Regions from separate parts of the Homo sapiens genome. Here regions 1 and 3 are each linked to region 2. The links are contacts of gene promoters, found by promoter capture Hi-C in human tissues and cell types (Jung and others, 2019). All regions are on one chromosome and are shown on one strand. Each heading gives the region's core, a stretch centred on a gene start or on the middle of the fragment in contact. The rest is flanking DNA. Distances are from core to core; before and after follow the strand shown. Region 1 overlaps ZNF287 (zinc finger protein 287). Region 2 holds the start of FLII (FLII actin remodeling protein). Region 3 overlaps CCDC144A (coiled-coil domain containing 144A).

What was found. The method cuts DNA at HindIII sites, captures the fragments that hold promoters and counts their contacts. A contact is called where the count stands out against the background at its distance.
Region 1: a fragment that was not itself captured here is called in contact with the fragment with the promoter of FLII in region 2 in 1 of the 25 tissues and cell types used here (dorsolateral prefrontal cortex).
Region 3: a fragment that was not itself captured here is called in contact with the fragment with the promoter of FLII in region 2 in 1 of the 25 tissues and cell types used here (dorsolateral prefrontal cortex).

Annotation. Positions count from the first base shown.
Region 1 is chr17:16,546,353-16,549,946 of GRCh38, forward strand. It overlaps ZNF287 (zinc finger protein 287), which reads right to left. Exons shown (of 6, transcript NM_020653.4): 6 at 602-3,594. Among named protein-coding and RNA genes, the nearest start is that of ZNF287, 21 kb to the right of the region's middle. The HindIII fragment of the contact is 5,711 bases long and covers 1-3,594 here.
Region 2 is chr17:18,256,595-18,260,175 of GRCh38, forward strand. It overlaps FLII (FLII actin remodeling protein), which reads right to left and starts at 2,144. Exons shown (of 30, transcript NM_002018.4): 1 at 2,034-2,144; 2 at 315-425; 3 at 1-3. The coding sequence starts at 2,096. RefSeq lists enhancers at 110-776, 1,436-1,515, 1,515-2,016 and silencers at 1,686-1,825, 1,836-2,235. The HindIII fragment of the contact is 13,885 bases long and covers 1-3,581 here.
Region 3 is chr17:16,756,681-16,760,468 of GRCh38, forward strand. The region is part of intron 12 of CCDC144A (coiled-coil domain containing 144A); the gene reads left to right. Among named protein-coding and RNA genes, the nearest start is that of FAM106C, 30 kb to the right of the region's middle. The HindIII fragment of the contact is 6,812 bases long and covers 1-3,788 here.

The sequences.
Region 1 (3,594 bases), core at 355-2,854, 1.7 Mb before region 2:
CGCCCCATATTTGCATATGGGTGGGAGGGCCAGCTCTTCCTCTGGCTATTTGAAGACATGCCTAGTCAAACCAATCCCCTGAGCCCTATGCAAATCAAACACTGCCTTCTCCAGCCTCTGTATATATACCTAGCTGGTATCCGTGGCAGGTGGGGACCTTCTCTTTCGGCTTTGGAGCCCCCTCTCCTGTCTCTGTACAGGTGAGCTGCTTCTTTCTTCCTTCTCCCTTCCTTCTAGCCCCTTCTTGCCTATTAAACTCTCTGCTCCTTAAAACAAAAAACAAAACAAACAACAAAAAAGAAACTCTATGGGAAAGAAGACAAAAACAGATTTAAAAAACTTTCAGTGCTCTAATCTCATAAAAATACATAATTCTATAAAATTGTAGGTACATACTCTTTGTACTCAGAATTTCCATTTAACATTATTTTACAAGAAGAACTCAACTAAGTGCTGGAGCTATGCGGTTCCAATCCTTATTCTGTCATTATATGACATATGGCCTCAAGCATGACATTTCAGCATCATGGGCTTCACTTTCCCCATTCATACACAGTGCAGGGCTCGATGCTGTTTACACACACGCATTTGTACATATCACTGTAGTGCACATGCTTGCCATTTTTAATGGTTATAGTGTTCTAAGGGGCTAATAATTATGAAAGATAGAGCCATGGGGAGAACAGAAACAGAGGAGTAAGAATACATTTTCGGGCACATGCAAGTGAACTGACACCAGAAGACAAAGAATGAAACATAACAGCCTTAAAGTTTTAGAGACCAAATAAAGGTTTAGTAAGAAAAACTAGTACTTAGATTTGCATGAAACAGATCCTTAGGATTAATATTTAGATCTTACCAGAAATCTGCCTTAAGAGATGTGATGGGAAAGGAGGGCTATTAGCTTATAAACACCGTAAGTTATAGACATATAATAGTTAAAACACAACGTATTAGGTATACATCTAGTTGCTTTCTTAATTGCCCTCTACTTAACCCACTTGGCAGATTAACTGACAAGTTCTATTCCCTTGTAAATTTCCTGATGGCATTGTCACAGGCCTTTTGCAGCTAATTTGCTGCTTTCTAGCATACATAACATGGAAGTGTTCTCTCCAATTTAGGTGCATGCTTAACAAGATTTAGTTGTTTGCACCCGAAAGTTTATCCCAGTTATGTAATTATATCCCTCATTACACAGATATTAGGTAACTGATGGCATGAGTGAAGAGTTGTCTTTATGAAAACCAACTTGAATGGTTGGAAAGAATTGCCAGTGACACTCCGGGAGCAGTGAGAATCCCTAGTGCCCAGATCTTGGTTTCTAAATAGCTACCTATTAAAAGGAGCCAGGGATTCTTGGAAAAAGGTTTCATTCCAGGCCTGGGGCATTGAAAATGCAAGGCCAACTTGAGATATCTTGTGTTAGAAGGCAATCAAGTGTCCAAAGACTAGAGAGTGAATGTCAAAAGGACATAAGAGATACTTGAAGGGCTCCACCTGGCCAAATTTGGGACAATCTGAACATCAGAAACAATGATCATAAATGACTTAACACATTGAATCATGTGTTATCACTGCAGATGAAAGCATCAAACTCTTTACTGGTAATTAAACTCCTACACTGGTAATTAAGGTAAAATAATTGCTGACTGTGCCTCTAGTGCATTCCTAGTTGATGAGGGAACATTATACAAGAATGCCACTCAACAAGTGTAGAGTGATAGAATTAGAAAATTGTCATTTTGCAAACATTGATGAGACAATGGATTCAGGCAACGATCACCGTTGGTTACTTTTTACCAGGTAAAAAGTTGTTGGCAATCAAAATATCCATGTGCTGCCAGTGTCAGTCCACAGATTAATTGCAATAGGAAAAACTACCTTTATATTGGGAAGATCTGGTGACCTCAAATGAGTGATCCATTGATAATGAGTCAACCTGATATTAATGAGACTTTTGATATGATGCACTATGAAATACATCTGTGAGGTGTTATCATTAAAAATGTTTAAACAACCCAATCAAGCCTTTTGCCCTAACTTCTAATTTATGGAAACTACAGGGGGTACCGGAACAACCCACATGTAAATAATCAGTTGAATCCTGAACATGAGACATTTTTCAAGACAACTGACCTGCTCTCTTAAAGAGGAAAAACTGTCCGGGCGCGGTGGTTCACGCCTGTAATGCCAGTACTTTGGGAGGCTGAGGCGGGTGGATCACGAGGTCAGGATATCGAGACAAGCCTGGCTAACACAGTGAAACCCCATCTCTACTAAAAAAATACAAAGAAATTAGCCGGGCGTGGTGGCGGGTGTCTGTAGTCCCAGCTACTCGGGAGGCTGAGGCAGGAGAATGGCGTGAACCTGGGAGGCGGACCTTGCAGTGAGCCGAGATTGCACCACTGCACTCTGGCCTGGGTGACAGAGTGAGACTCCGTCTCAAAAAAAAGGAAAAACCAAAGTGGGGACTGTTCTAGATAGATGAAACAGATAATCAAATACTATGTGTGAAAACTGACTGGATCAACAGAGGAAATTTAAACACAGACTAAGTCTTCAGATATTAGGGAATTACTATTTGTTTTTTTTTTAAAGGTATGTAAATGTATTGTGGTTATGTAAAAGACCATCCTTATTTTTGTAAGATGCATGCTGAAGTATTTAGAGATGAAATGTCATGTCTGTAAGTTACTTTCCAATGTTTGGTTAAAAAAAATACGGCAGAATGTTAGTTTTTAAATTTAGGTGGGTATATAGTTAATTTTATGATTTTTAAAACTTTCTATATATTTGAAAACTCATAATAAAAAGTTCTGGAAAATAAGGCTATTTGCTAAAAACTGTTGAATAATTTGCGGGTCAGACAACTGTAAAAGTGGGAAAAATACACAAAGATCTAGGGTTCTCCACTATTACTAGTCTGTTATTTTATAAGGGCATCAATTGCCTCTGTTTATCAGTGGAAGACTTTATAAATGCATTATTTACATAAAACATACAAAGGCAGGAAATAACAGAGTAATGCAAAGGAAGGCGCTATGGACTGTCACATGCCACATGCTCAACCAAGGGAAATAAGTGCTGTGTGAGGGATGAAGCAGCATCAAAAAAATAAGATTTTCAAACAACTGTTATTTTAAAAAACAGCTATATAAGCACAGTTTGAGTATTCTGCAACCTGTACTTTGTGCAGGATGATACTATGAAATCAAGGTTAACTAATGTAAGGGAAATGGAAATCAAGTTTTTTAAAGAAAACACTCAATAATATAGCCTTTAGGATACTAGCATCCTGGGTCTTTCCTTCAGTACCTGTTTGTAGGATGGTTTTATAAACAGTAATGTCCAAAGGAAGTTGCATGGTTAATACATGCTTAAATTGATATTTATAGCACCAGAATTGATACCAATTTCCCCTCATTTAGCTCAGGAAAACTTCCTGTACAAAGATGTCCCAGGAAACCTGATTCACGATTTTTAAGCAGTTCCCAAGTAAATGTTATTTGTTGAACATTTCTTTGATATATGCACAAAAATATTTTTCGTTATACCAATTTTCACTCCATGCCAGTCAATTCTACTTTATTA
Region 2 (3,581 bases), core at 894-3,393:
TTCCTGGGCCGGAATGGGGAGCACAGGCTCAGCAGGGTGGGTGGGGTGTCCAGAGTCCCTGCCTGCCTCCACAACTCTGCACCATCCAGGAAGGCCTCAGCCACACTGGCCCAACTACCCCTGCAGCTTCCCTCCCTCACTCACCCGGCCTCTTCTTGCACACCTCCCTGGACAGGGTGCCCACTCCCTTTCTTCCAGCTCTGCTCATAGCTGTCGGTGTTCCTCTCTCTGGAGAAGTTGTCTGCCTTCTCCACAGGCTCTGCCCACCTGGCTCATCCACAGGGACCCTCCCCTGCCCGCCCAAACCCCCTTACCAGCTTCTGCAGGGCGGCCAGCTCCTCGGGCAGGTAGCAGAGGCCAGTGCGGTTCAGCTTCAGCCACCGCAGGCTGGTCATGGCCTTGACATTCTCAGGGAAGTAGCCGCCCTGGGGGAAGGATGTCAAGGTGAAGCACAGAGCCCCTGCTCACCACCTTCTATGGCTCCTCCAGCCCATGGGAGCCTTTGGGGAGCCACAGAACCAACTCTCACCATCTGTGAGAACACAGACAAGTCATTTCATCATTGTGCCTCAATTTCTTCACCCATAGAATGGGAATTTTAAGCCCCCCCGTGACAAAAGTGTTGGCCTAAGATTTGTCTCTCCTACTGGATTCTGGGCCCCAGGAGGGCCAGGACAAAACTGGCTTGTTTCAGGTGAAAGCCCAGCATCCGGCTCTGTGGTTAGCTCGGCTCAAATTCCTTCACCTAGCATTCCACACTCTGACTGGCTGCCTGGGGTGGGGGATCCCCCTTCCAAGCCTTTGCAAAGGCGCCACCTGTGCCCTCATCCTGCCATCAGCACACTGGCAACTCACGGCCAGGGTCAAACCCTTGCTTGCGGAGACCGTGGCTCCCCACCCTGCAGGGCAGGCCAGCATCACTGCACTCCCCTGGTGTGTGAACGCCCACCTCGGCACCTCCAGCCCTTGTGGCACCAAGTCTGGGGCAGTAGGTGCCTTCAGTGCCTGCGGCTGATATTCCTTTCCCCCTAGCGCCACATTCCCAGCTGGTGACTCGGACTCTCCCAGTTCAGCAAAGAGGAACGGGGACCCCAGGTTAGGGTGGTGGGGATGGGGTCAGGGAAAAGTGGTGTAGCCACTTGTACTTGGGGTCAAAGGTGTGTACACAGGCAGGTAAACGCAGGAAAAACCTGCCTCCTCGGCCCCAGCCCCAGACCAACAACCCAGGCCGACCCTGCCAGTCACCCACCCTGAAGGTGAGGCTGACCCTCCAGCCAGCTCTCCCTCCCTCTCTTTCTCTGCTTCCCCTTTGGTCAGGCAATGCCTGTCTCATTCTTGAGTCCTGGAACCACCCCGCCGCCCCACCCACTGGCTGCGGAGGGCTGGGCTCCGGTCCCTTTTCTCTCAGTCCAGCAGCTGCTCAGACAACTGCCACCCAGCACCTGGCACACCGGCCTGACACACTCTCCACACCAACAAATCTCACTATACTCCTTGCGTCCAAGGAGGAGACTTTTAAGCCCCTTCACCGGCTGAGAAAGCCTAGGCTCTGAGAGGGGAAGTGATCTGAGAGGCCCAGGATCACACAGTATGGCGGGTGGCGGTGGCGGGGAGAGGGCAGTGATGAGTCGGCTCCACACCCGCCCCTGGGCAGCCGGGCAGCCATCCCTGAGTCAGGGCCTGGCTTGGGCGTGTGACCTCAGAGGGGCGGGGAGGCTCGCCCGATCCCCAGGCCACCATCCAGCCTAGACCGAGAACACGGACGCGGGGTGGGGGCTCCCGGCCGGGCCCCCGGCGGGACTCCGAGCCCAAGCGTCCGTCCCCGGCCTGCCCAGCCTCGGTCTCCCCGTACAGGCACTGGGCGGAGGCCTCGGAGGTCCATTCCTGGCCAGGGGAGAGCCCCACCCCGCCCCGGCCGCAGTCCCTGGGACACGCAGGGCCTGGAGCCGAGCGGGACAGGAAGCGGAGGCCAAGCGGGCCGGGCGGAAGAGAAGGCCTGCAGGGAGGCCCGGCACGCGCCCGGCCCGGCTCACCTTGAAGTCGTTGCCGCTGAGGTCCACGCCACGCACGAACGGCAGCACCCCGGTGGCCTCCATGGCGCCGCTCTCGCTGCCGGGCCGCGCCGGGCTAGGGAGCGCCGGGGCGAGGGCGCTGGGGGGAGCCGCGGGCTGGGCCAGCGCCGGCCCCGCCCCTTTAACCCGCCCGCGCCCGCCGCATTCCGCGGGGAAGTGTAGGCTTTAGGCCTCTTAGGGCCTCAGTTTCCCCGTCTGTTCGAAGACTGCGGAGGCACCAAGGAGTGCGGGCCCCCCCTGTGCTGGAGTTGGAGGCTTCCACGATCTCCAGGCTTAAGTCCCAGCGCCCCAGGGCAGGGGCCGTAACGGCCGCTGGTCGAGGCACCGTCACCTGCGCTGCTGCAGCACATGAAGCTGGCCCTGACCTCAGAGAGATTCTAAACCTCGGCCCCGGGGCGCAGAGGCCCAGGAAGTGCCTGTACTTGGCTGACCGGTGGTAGTGAGACACCTGGATCCTCGGGTCCTAGCTCTCCTGCTTCTGGACTTAGTTTCCTCATGTGTTGTTTTTGTTTTGTTGAGACAGGGTCTTCTTGCTCTGCTGCCCAGGCTGGAGTGCAGTGGTGTGATCATAGCTCACTGCAGCCTCGAACTCCTGGGCTCAGCCTCCCGACTACCTGGGATTATAGGCGCAGGCCACCACACCTGGCTAAATTTATTTATTTTATTTATTTTTTATTTTTTTTGAGACAGAGTCTCGCTCTGTCGCCCAGGCTGGAGTGCAGTGGCGCAGTCTCGGCTCACTGCAACCTCCGCCTCCCGGGTTCACGCCATTCTCCTGCCTCAGCCTCCCGGGTAGCTGGGACTACAGGCACCCGCCACTACGCCCGGCTAATTTTTTTTTTTTTTTTTTTTGTATTTTTAGTAGAGACGGGGTTTCACCGTGTTAGCCAGGATGGTCTCGATCTTCTGACCTCGTGATCCAACCGCCTCGGCCTCCCAAAGTGCTGGGATTACAGGCGTGAGCCACCGCGCCCGGCCTTATTTATACTTTTTGTAGACACGGGGTGCTTGCTATGTTGCCCAGGCTGGTCTTGATCTCCTGGCCTCAAGTGATCCTCTGGTATCAGCTTCTCAGAGTGTTGGGATGACAGGCGTGAGCCACCGCGCCCTACCCAGTTTCCTCATTTGTAAAATACTTTCTAAGGTTGTCACCATGAGCAAATTAACAAAGAATGCACGTGTAGCTCGCAGCATACAGCAGGCGCTCAGTGAGTGGCAGGTTATTATTCCGTTTTGTTTTGTTTTGTGCGCCAGGTTATTATTCCCACTTAGTGTCAGCACCCCTGTGCTCGTACCCCCCTACAAAGGGAGGCTCCAGAAGAGAAGCATCCGTCTTGGTCCTTGCTGTTCAAGGGGGCTCGCCCTGGCTGACACATAGCAGGACCCCAATAAATGAGCCACAGCTGTTATATGCCCAACCATCCTTCGCAGGGGAGGAGGGGGTCTAGTGTCCCCATTTTACAGGAGAAAAACTGATGCCCAGGTGGAGAATGGCCCACACAAGCTCGC
Region 3 (3,788 bases), core at 1,171-3,670, 1.5 Mb before region 2:
TGTCATGTTTCTTTGATTTTTCATACTTCTTGTGTCCTTAATGTTGATAACTGTGCAGCTGGTGTAACAGTCACTTCATCTAGTTTTAGGGGTTGTCTTTTTTCTGTAGATGTATCTATGTTGTTGGTTGAATATGGTGCTCTGGCATTGATGATGGGTGGGTGCATTGGTGTGGCCTCCATATACTTATGCTTTCTTCTGCTGTAATCAACATCAGCGTCTGTAAGTTCCTCAGTGGCTTACGGTGTGGTTGTTAGTAGCAGGGGATGCTGTGGTGAGGCCTTGATGGTGATGGGGAGGACAGCAGGCCAGTCCTCAGGCACATTGATGGCATACACAAGGATGTATGTGTGATTGGCAGCACCAGGCCATGCTTCCCAGTTTTTGGTGGCAGTGGGTTACCTGAGTGGTCTGGCCCTTGGGCCTCCAGGTGGTGTGTGCTGGGATCAGAGGTGGCAATAGCAGGCCAGGCCAAAGGACCTTGGTGACACTTGTGGCACTGGAGATGACAGTAGCAGCTGGGGGCCGGACCTTGGATCCCTTGGTAGCATGCATGGGCACTGGTAGTGGTGAAAGCAGGCTGCATGGGCATTTCTCTGGCCCCCTATGAGGAACATTTAGGTGGGTACCTAAGGCAGTGTGTGGAGCAGGCTTGTCCACAGGTTAACTGAAGACACGTGCAGGAGCCTTTGCCAGTGGCTGGTGAGGCAGCCCTGTCTTTATGCTCCTGGATGCCACGTGCAGGTGCCGGTGGGGCAGTAGGACTCTCCTTGGTATTAGTGGTAGATGGGGCCTGGGTAAAGGCACAGAGGCCTGGGTGGGGTGGGCTGCTCCTCAGGGTCCTGGACAGTGTATGTGAGCACTGATAGCAACAATAGCAGCAGCAAGCAAAGTGGCCTTGTCTTCAGGCTCTCATATGGCTCACATGGGCGCCACCCCTGGTGGGCTTGACAGGCTTGTTCTCAGGCTCCTGCATGGTACACTTGAGTGGGCCAGTCCTCCGGCCTCCTAAAGGTATGTACAGGTATGCACAGCACTGCCCCTGAAGGGGATAGGGCTGCTGGTGGTGGCAGTGGTGTCAGTCAGGTGGCTCCTAGGCTCTAGACAGCACACACTTAGGATCCCTTTGACCTAGAGTAGCTTCCCTGGTGGGCTATTAGATGACCACCTATTTCCACAGGTATATGGTGCTGTGGGGCTAGGGATTTGGGGGAATCGGTCCTGGTTTTGAGATGATCCTGGTTGGGCTGGCTACCTCAGTTCCCTTTCCTTCTGTCATCAGAGGATCCCTATCAATTTCCTGCTGAATTCCAGTATACTCTCTTTGATGTTTTCCTCAAGGTGTGGTTACCTACTTGCTGTTTTGGTTTTTCTTTTTGAAAGAGGTGAGTGCTGGGTATTCCCAGTCAGCCATCTCGATGATGTCTCTGTCTATGCTGTGCATATTAAGGAATGTATAGACGTGTTTTAAAACCTGCACAATTGACCCTATAACTATAATTTAAAAGATTTCTACCACTTGAAAAACACACTAATTTCTAATTATTACCTCTCACCCCACACACAGGTTTTATTTAATATGGCAGAAGACTCAGGCTTAAAGTGCAAGATCCTAACCTCCCATCACACACACACAAGTTTCATTTAATATGGCAGCAAGCTCAGGCTTGAAGTGCAAGATCCTACCATCTTTATCACAGACGGTAGGGATGCACCCTGGGTTGTGGTTTCTGCGGTATAACCCCTTGAGTGCATTTCTTGTCAACACAAAGACGTAAGAACTAAAGGGACAACTTGTCTACCACTCACCCACCCAGCATTCTCCTAAACTGCCAGAGACCCTCCTATTGAACAGAGAGAAAATGGGAGTCACAAAGGGAATATTAGACCATAGAAATTCTGAAATACAGCCTGATGTGTGCTTCCACTTACTTGATTTGGACTTCATGGGAACCATCCTCTGTGGCTTTTTGTGGTACCTTCTTGGCTCTTTGTTGTATCCTTTTCATAAGCAATGACCTGTGTTTTCAGCTAAGTAGTTTCTTCAGCCAGCTTCCTCCCTGTAGAAGCTCTTAGGTCCTAAGGCCTCTTTTCATTTTTACTGTCTTGTTGTCTTTTAAGCCAAGCTAGCAAGCAGTGCTATTGTTACTATAATTCTCTTAGAGTCTCTTGTGAATTTTACTTGAGTTCTTGTCATTGGAAAAACCACTTGTCCCAATCTCTTTGAGATAAGCACTTCACCTTGTGCTTCCTGTGAAGGAAGCACACTGTTCTGTGTAGTACGACAGTGCCTTAAGATGCGTATACCCTTAAGATCTTTAAGGGAATTTGAGGCACCACCTTAAATCTTTCTAAGGTCTTAAAATAGAGCCTTACACTGACAGTCTTGGCTTCACCTTCAGACTTTCTCCTGGCAGCACCCTGGATTTGATCTTATCTCAGAGGCCATTTATCTCAGCAATACAGATGCTCCTCAGATTAGGATGGGTTTATGTCTGGATGGCATTTGCATTTGTTATGTCTGATATTTGTAATTTATAGGCCATCATAAATTGTAAATATCAGAAGTTATGGGTGGGTTTTCCATTTACGATAATTTCCATTTACAGTGACTTTATCCTGATGTAACCACCCCTGTAAGCCAAAAGGCTTACACATATCATGTCATTACTCAACACATATCATTTTCACAGTATTATAAAAAGTCAGAAAATGGTGAGTCGAACCATGCTAAGTCAAGGACTGTCTATATTTGGGAATCTGACATGTGGAGAGGCTATAAAAAGGATACTGAACCTAGAAAGTCCTGGTTCTTTTATATGTAGTAGTCTTTCTTTAGCTTATCTCTTGCATTGGTTTTACTTTCAGCGGCTGTGTAGTAACAGTGCCCTTTCCTTCAGGTTCCCGTATCGTTTTCTTCACTATCCTGGAGCCCTTCCTACCAGCTTCTTCGAGGACCATCAGGCTTCCACTAACAGTCTCTTTAAAACTCTTCTTGTTTTTGTGCTTATTCTTCTGTAGGTCCTTTCAGCTTCTGATTAGCTCCTGGTCCAATGGTAATCCTACATGTTTTAGTAGTTTTTGTTGTGTTGTTGTTGTGCAATCTATATGTAGTGTCAATATCTGTATCAGTTATTTCTTGGTATATAACAAAATGCAGTGTCTCAAAACAACATCTATTTTGTTCACAATCTGCAGTTTTAGGCAAGGCTCAGTGGGGCCAACTCCCTTTTTCTTTACTTGGCATCAGCTGAGGTGACTTAAAGCTGGGGACTAGAATCATCTAAAGGCTTGTTTATTTACCTGTGCGGCATTCGAAGCTGGCTTTTGGCTGGGACGTTAGGTAGGGAAGTCAGCTCGAACACCTACCTACATGAGGGTTCATGGTATGGTTTGGGCTTTCTCACGGCATGTTGGCTGCATTTTAAGGACAAGCGTCCCTAGAGAGAGAGTCAGGTAGAAGCTGTGTGACTTTTTGTAACCAACTTTAGAAGTCACACAGCAGTTCTGCCACATTGTGTTCCGGAGAAACCGGTTGTCAATGCCAGCTTGTATTTAGGAGAGGGAATGTCATGGGAGAAGTGGCAAGCAATTTGTAGATGTTTTAAAACCACCACTTCACTTACCTTTATAAAATAAAAAACAATCATAATTATTTCCTCTAAAGGAAAGCAGTTATTTCCAACTCAGCACCATTGAAATTTCAGTGCAATTTTTTGTTGTCATTCTTTAATGTGCTCCCTTATTTTGTGTAAAGTAACAATGAATTACAAGATTGTGCTACTGAA